Linked DNA regions of Homo sapiens: region 2 is linked to region 1. The links are contacts of gene promoters, found by promoter capture Hi-C in blood cells and fetal thymus (Javierre and others, 2016). All regions are on one chromosome and are shown on one strand. Each heading gives the region's core, a stretch centred on a gene start or on the middle of the fragment in contact. The rest is flanking DNA. Distances are from core to core; before and after follow the strand shown.

Evidence for each region. Contacts are between HindIII fragments. The CHiCAGO score rates a contact against its expected background, and 5 or more counts as called.
Region 2: a fragment that was not itself captured here is called in contact with the fragment with the promoter of PLXNB3 in region 1 in 1 of 17 cell types (activated CD4 T cells); the score reaches 5.5 in activated CD4 T cells.

What each region holds. Positions count from the first base shown.
Region 1 is chrX:153,762,223-153,765,928 of GRCh38, reverse strand. PLXNB3 (plexin B3) reads right to left here and starts at 1,680. Exons shown (of 36, transcript NM_005393.3): 1 at 1,625-1,680; 2 at 349-458. The coding sequence starts at 393. It overlaps PLXNB3-AS1 (PLXNB3 antisense RNA 1), which reads left to right. Exons shown (of 3, transcript NR_199696.1): 2 at 2,080-2,219. The HindIII fragment of the contact is 7,823 bases long and covers 1-2,636 here.
Region 2 is chrX:154,055,886-154,059,591 of GRCh38, reverse strand. The region is part of intron 1 of MECP2 (methyl-CpG binding protein 2); the gene reads left to right. Among named protein-coding and RNA genes, the nearest start is that of MIR718, 38 kb to the right of the region's middle. The HindIII fragment of the contact is 851 bases long and covers 1,262-2,112 here.

The DNA of each region.
Region 1 (3,706 bases), core at 431-2,930:
GGACCCCGGGGTGAGCCCCCGAGGGTGAGAGGTGGGAGCAGCCCCTTCTCTGGCCCCTCCTGCCCTCCACAGAGAGATGCTGCCCTGGGTGTGTGGTCACATGCCGACCAGGAGTGGGGCCGCTGCGACTCAGGGCAGAGCAGCGCCTGGAGGAAGGCCCAGGAGCCGCTTATCTCAGGAACACAGGCAGGAAGAGCACGGACACTTCCTGCGGACCCCGGGCTATCTGGGGCAGTGTCTGCCATGAGGGAGGCTGCAGCCTGTATGTCCTGGGCCTGGCCACAGCCATCCTGCCCTACCCTGCCCCTCCCAGGAACATTTCTGGGGACACCGGGCCTGGGCACTTACCATGAAGTGGTGCAGCAGAGGGGTCTCCTGGGCGGCGTGGCACATACGCTCAGTTCAGCTGCCCCAGGGCAGTGGCGATGGGCATGAGATGGCTGCGGGGGGGCATTGTCCTGAGTGGGAGGGAGACAGTCGAGGCTCAGCCCCATTCGAGCTGGCCTGGGGAAGGAGGGGCGGCGGTGGGGGTGGCGCCCAGGGCCTAGCGACCGGGCTCCCTCACAGCTGGCAGCTTTGTCAATAGTGGCCAGGCCAAGGCAGCCCTGCCTCCACCACAACAATGTTCCCTCTGTCCAGAGGCCAGGCCAGGGCCCCACTCGCTAGTGCTGTCACCCCCACTGGGCTGTTCTGGACAGGGGGCTCCTTGCCACTTCCCACCCTCAGGGAGCCACCCCCGGGATCCGGGGACAAAGGGCCGGGGTTTCCTCCAGCCAGCCCTCCCCCTCTGGCCCTGCAACCCCTGTGTCACTAAGCATGCCCCTCCCTGGCTCCCCGGGTCCCTGTGAAGGGCACGGGGTGGACCTTGGAGCCCCTGCAAATGCCGGCTGGTAGCCTTGGGGCCTGGGTGAAGTGCCAGTCCTGGCCCTCAATGCCTGCCTTTGTCCAAAAGATCTTCCTCCACACCCCCAGCCCAGCCCTGCCCCTGGGGACTGGTGAAGTGGTGCCAGGTACAGCATGGTGGCAGCGAGCAGGACCACGGGAGGAGGCTGCTTGAGATGGGCTGAGGCAGAGGGTCCACAGGCCGGGGCTGTCCACCCCACCCTCTGAAGCACCGTCCTGCTGGCCTAGATGCCATCCATGCAGGGGATGGGGAAGGGAGGGGCACCTAGCAGCTAGACCCCCTGTCACCCTCACAGGCCACCCTGGCCAGTGGCACAGGAGCAGGTGCACTGGGGATGGGGTCTCTGCCTCCCCCACAGCACGGCAGCAGTAGGCTCCAGGGCAAGGTGGCAGTGGGCTGCTGTCACCTGGCTGGGCCAGTTGGGTGGCTGTGGGGGTGGGGAGCCAGGCGGGCAGCCTCTCTACCCTGTACCCTGCCCGAGGCTGGCGTTGGCTTTCCCATTTCGGGGAAGAAACATGGTTCCCCACCTCCTAACCCCAGGGCTACCACTTGGGGGACACCGTGCTCCCAGACACCTAGTGCCGTCGTCAGGCTGGGCCGACACCCGAGCGCTCTTGCCTGACCCCAGCCAGTTGGCCCTGAGACCCTGATGCCTTGCCCTGAGGCTGGTAGCCCCTGCACCCCAAGCCCAAGCCCAAGCCTGCCCCAGCTCTTGCCTACCTGGTGGGCCACCGGCGAGGGCCAAGTAGCAGCTGGCGGTGCCAGGAGCACGTCTCACAGAGCCCCAGCCTCCCTCCCCACAATGCAATCGTGCCCAGTCCGACTCATCCCAACAAGCCCGGCCAGGCAGCCCAGCCTCTCTCCGCCCGCCCCTTTGCCCAATGGCACAGGGCAGGATGTTGCTGCCCTCTGCTGGCCGCAGCGGGCATGATGGAGTACTGACCGTGGGCACCTGGCAGGTGAGAGACGGCAGCGCCCTCCTATTGGGTGGGCATTCCATAACCTGGCACGAAGCACCTACTGGATGCCAGGCTTGGGCTTGGCACTGGCACCATCCAGAAACAAACACAGGTTGGGAAACTGAGGCACAGGAGGTTAGGAAACTTGAATAAAGTCACACAGCTAGTATGTGGCAAGGCTGAGTCAATCACAGGGCCCCTTCACTTAACCGTCAGGCTACATGACCTTGAACCATGAACCTTGGCAGGCGTTGGGCAGGAGATGGAGCTGAGGCCTACCCCAGGCCAGGCCTGGACGTGACATGCCCACGTGGCGTTGAGGAAAAACCAGTGTTTCCCACCGACTGGAACACAAGGTTGGTCAAGGGCCGTCTCCCAGGGTGTGGCGGAGGTCAGCAAATCAGGTGGGGTCTTTGTGGCCAGGCTTGAGAACTTGAACTTGTCTCGCCATGGGCAACTGCAAGCTGGTGGCACTGGGGCAGAGAATGTGGGGAGGCCTGGTCCAGTGGTGGTCATGGGCATGGAGAGAGGCGGGCGCGTTCTAGAGGCGCTCTGGGGAGGCAGCATTCTGAAGACTGTGCGTTGGACCCAGGGCAGGAGGCGAAGGCAGGAGAATCCAGGCGACCCTGGGGCTTTTCTGCTGGGGCACTGTTCCCCCTGTGGCAGGGCCATCCACAGAGGGGCTGGCGGAAGTGGGAGGACGGTAAGACTGAGGGGCCCATGAGGGAGGAGGAAATGGTGATGGGGCTGGGGAGGCCTGGGGGTGAGAAGCTTGGCTCAGGTGGCTGGAGCCCTGGGGGCGGCCAGGGTATAGGGCCAGGTGTTGGCCCTGGAGCTCAAAGGCCCAGCAGACTCGGGGTATGGGTGCTTCCCTGAGCAGCTGTGTCATTCTTTCCAACCTGCATGGAGAGAAATGGGGCACAGAGGTGGGTAACTTGCCCAGGGCCATGACCTGACGTCGTTTCTTCAGAGTGCATTCCACAGAGATGGGATTTGAACCTGGGCATTCTGGCACGGGCCACGCTCTGGACCACTGGGCCCCAGATCCACAGCTTCTCACCTGCAGCCGCTGAGGATGTGGAGGCAGACCAGGCAGGCCCGTGGGAAGGACCACCAAAAAGCGAGTGAGCAGCCGGCGAGGGGTCTCTCCCCAACAGGAAGGCCAGGCAGCCTTGAAGGAGCCAGGGAGGGATTTAGAAGCTCCAGGAGGGGAGGCTTGGGGGAGCCAGCTGGCCTCTCTCCCTCTCCCTGTCCTTCCCCCCATGCCTACCCCAACACACACACACATGTCCTTGCTGGCCCCGGATGAGACAGACGCCTGCAATCTGGCATGGGGAATGGGTTTCTCCTTCCTTTCCACAGAAGAAAATAAATCAGGCTGGGCGTCGTGGCTCCCGCCTGTAATCCCAGCACTTTGGGAGCCTAAGGCAGCAGGATCACTTGGGCCCAGGAGTTCTAGACCAGCATGGGCAACATAGTGAGACCCCCATCTCTATAAAAAAATTTAAAAATTAGCCAGGCATGGTGGTGCGAGCCTGTAGTCCCAGCTACTTGGGAGGCTGAAGTGGGAGGATCGCCTGAGCCTGGGAGTTGGTGCCTGCAGTGAGCCGTGATGGTGCCATTGCACTCTAGCCTGGGTGACAGTGCAAGACTCTGTCTTTAAAAAAAAAAGAAAAGAAAGAAAGAAAAAAGAAAATAAATCCATCCACAGGCAGCACCATTTTCATAAATATGTGTGTATATGGCCTGCATATGCACCTTCTACGCTTTCTGAGCAGATAAGAGGCGTGGCTATGGCAGCCCCTGGTCTGAAGCTGGTGTAACCAGAAAGGATCTAGGCTGG
Region 2 (3,706 bases), core at 438-2,937, 290 kb before region 1:
GAATCTGGTCGTTGGTGTCTAAATGTGCCTGTTACTTGTGCCCAATGTCCAGGTTCACCAGGAGGCTTAGCCTGCTCATTTCCCTGCTAGTAGCTATATTTTGGGAGAGCATTTTTTATGCTCTAATTGAACTTTGTGGGTCTCAGCAATTTGAACAATGTTTTGTTTTTCTTCTGGTCAGGTTACAAAGGAAAGAAAAGGAATCTGGTGTTGTAGGAGGTGGTGTGTTGTGTAATTACTTGTTTTTTTTTTTTAAGTTTTTTTATATTTTTGCAACAAGGCAAGTTTTCTTTGAATAAATAATGCTGGGAGCTTATCACATAGAAGGCATATGTGTTGTACTCAGTACATTCTGAATTATCTGGGTTTATTTTTATCTCTTGAATTCACTTATAAACAATTCAAAGGCTGCTTTTTTAGCTAACAGAAATAGGAAGAGAATCTCAGAATCTGTTTTGTCATTTTTTCAATGGGTTGAGTTATAGTGATTATGCTAACTCGGTGGAAAAGCAGTGTAGTGAGTAAACCCCACATACGGCATATCATGAACATTTTGTTGCTTTTTTGGCTTCTGACCATCTTCATACCTTTTTTTGTGTTAAAAGTCTCCCCATTGTGTATATCTTAGTAAGAGGCAGGTGGACCCTAGTTTCTACCTAAGAAAACCTGAAGATGGGGTTGGGGGCCTGTGGTGTACTTCCTTCTCATGCTGTCCATGACCACTGCAGTGGCTTTGTAAGGATCCAGGACCCAGGGCCCCTCAGTGGGTGTCTTCCATTTCTCAAGATTGCCTCTTGGTTGTGAGATGACGGTTGCTGCTCTAGTCATTGCATCCACTCCTCCAGGTAGGAAGAAAGAGGTCATAGGGGAAAGGCAAAATGGCACTTGACATCTTAACTTCTAGGCCCATTCAATATTTCCATTTCCATCTTCACACCCATCATCTTGTCCTAGGGAACAAACAGCACCAGCAGCTCAGTAGCTATAACAGCAATTATTATTTCTCACACATGGGTCTGGGTCAGCTGCAAGATGGGATTCAGATCTGTTCTCAAGCCTGTCGTTCCAGGACCCAGGAGGGAGAAGCAGCTGCCAGGGGAAGTCTCTTCGTAGGCGGAGGTCAGGAGTCCAAGAGGAGTGAGCAGAGTCACAGAAGCCTCTTAAAGCCTCTTCTTCCCCCATCCCATCAACACGTGAGCAAGCCCAGAGTCAGTGGGTGGGAGGTGTGCTCCGCCCATAGTCAGTAGAACAAGAGCAAGCTTGAAAGAGAACGATGAACAGGAGTGCACTCGGCCACTGTCTCCTTAGCCATAACGTAGTCCCATGGTCTGCTGGGAAGCGGGGAATAACTCTCCTTAGCTGAGCGCAGGGTCTCATTAGTAAGGCAGATGGAGAACATGGATGTTGGGGGACAACTGGCAGTGCCTGCCACAGGGGAATGGATATATTCCCTCCCCTTGCTCTCTGGAAACTAGGGGATGGCGATGAAGCCTAGGTTTGGCCAAACCCATTCTGCCTTCAGGGACTTTGACTCTTGAGGGACAGTGAGGGATTAGTCATGGTGGTGGCAGTTGAGTCACAAAACCAGCAGTGGTGGCTAATGTCCAGTGATGACATGCAACAGTGCCCAGGGTGGGTGTCCCAACCAGCAGGTCCCTGCAGTATAACCTTGGCTGTGTTTGCAGTGGTGCAGCCTCTATTCCTGCTGCTTTTCTGAGCCTAGTTCTCTAGTTCTCTCTCCATTTCCAGATCTGCTGCCCAAGAACTCCTTTGTGATTGAATTTAACCAGAGTTGATTTCTGTTGCTTGAAACTCAGGACCTTGATGCAGTGTGCAGGGTCTGGGCAAGGTAAAAACACACTTTCATGATTTCGCCTCAAGTATAGTAGATGAGCTTAGGCTTTTTGAGCCAGGTAGCCTTGGGATTAATTCTCAGCTCTTGCACCTAGCAGGTGACCTCAGCAATCAAGTCACTTGCCCTCCTTGAGCCTCAGTGTTGCCCTCAGTTAAACATTGCTCTCGTGTGTTGCTGAGCATTCAGTGAGATTGTATATAAAGTGATCATTGTGAAGGTATTGGGACATAATTTGGGAAAGCGTCCTGGTCTAAGCTTTTGATTGGCTCTCCATCATTTGGGTAATGGGATAGTGATTTAGGAGTATCATAGCAGCTCAAGGGGCCCTTCTGGAAAGGGTATGAGGAAGGTCAGGGACAAGTCTGAAATGAATCATCCTAGGCTTAATGCCTGTGACTGGGCAGTGGGTACAATTATCTCAGGCTAGTCAGTAGTCATTTATTGTGAGAATACATGGGCAGATTTTTTAATTTCCTTCTCAGTCTAGACTTGAATGCAAACAGTTCTTATTGCTAACTTACCACTAGTCACCACTAATGAACAAAGACTATGAACAGGAAATTCATAAAAGAAGAGATACAGATGGCCAATGAAGATAGGAAAAGAGTTCTGCCTGCTGGTAATCAAAGAGATGCAAACGAGAACAAAAATGATGCCTTTTCACCTACCAAATTTGTCAAGATTAAAAAGAAAGCAAAGAGCCAGCGTCAGCTGATGTTCATACCTGCACCTGCTCGGTAGCTTGCTAATGTTCTGCCTGCTCCACACGCCAGGCCAGCCTCCACGGCGCAGCCAGGTGAGGCCTTTCCTTGTATACAGGCACGTTTGGATTCACTGTTGCATAAGTGAGACATGTGCATGCTTCACAATTCAGGAAGTGCAAACTCCAGAGTGATGCAAGGTCTGAGTGTCCCTGCTGCCCTGGTCTCCCAGCTGCCTAGGCCTCTCTTCAGGGAACGGCTGCATCCAGGGTCTTGTCTGTGTCTTTTGAGGTGTTCTATGTACACGCAGACACATCTAAACCTATTTTTATTTTCCCTGCACCTGCTTGGGCTACTGTAAGCTGTTAAATTTTTTTTTCTAGGAATTTGTCCATTTTGTCTGACTAGCATAAAGTTGTTCATGTTATAGTTTATACATTTGCAACATCTGTAATTATGTCTGCTTTTTCATTCCTAGTGTTTGTTGTTTACTTGTACCTTCTCCCGTTTTTCCTTGTCTTGGTAAAAGCTCATTAGGTTCATTGGTCTTACAAGAAGCAGACATGTAGGCATTATTGCCCTGTATTACTCTGTGTCTCTTTTCTAGTTCATTAAATTCTGCTTTTGCTTTTATCTTTATTATTTTTTCTATGGTCTTAGAGTACATTCTCTGTGTTTTGTTGTTGTTGTTGTTGTTGTTTGTTTTTTGTTTTGAGAGAGAGAGTCTTGCTCTGTCGCCCAGGCTGGAGTGCAGTAGTGCAATCTCAGCTCACTGCAACCTCCACCTCCTGGGTTCAAGTGATTCTCGTGCCTCAACCTCCCGAGTAGCTGAGATTTACAGGCATTTGCCCCACACCCGGCAAATTTTTTGTATTTTTAGTAGAGATGGGGTTTTGGCATGTTGACCAGGCGGGTCTCGAACTGCTGACGCCAGGTGCTCCACCCGCCTTGGCCTCCCAAAGTGCTGGGATTACAGGCATGAGCCACCACGCCTGGCCCTAACTTCTTAAGTTATAAATTTGGTTCATTGATTTTTCTACCCTTTTTTCAAATGTAAACATTTAAGGCTAACCCTCTGGAACTACTTCAACTGTATCTAGCAAGTTCTGATAGTATTGTCACTTTAAGTTAGCCCAAAGATATTTTAAAT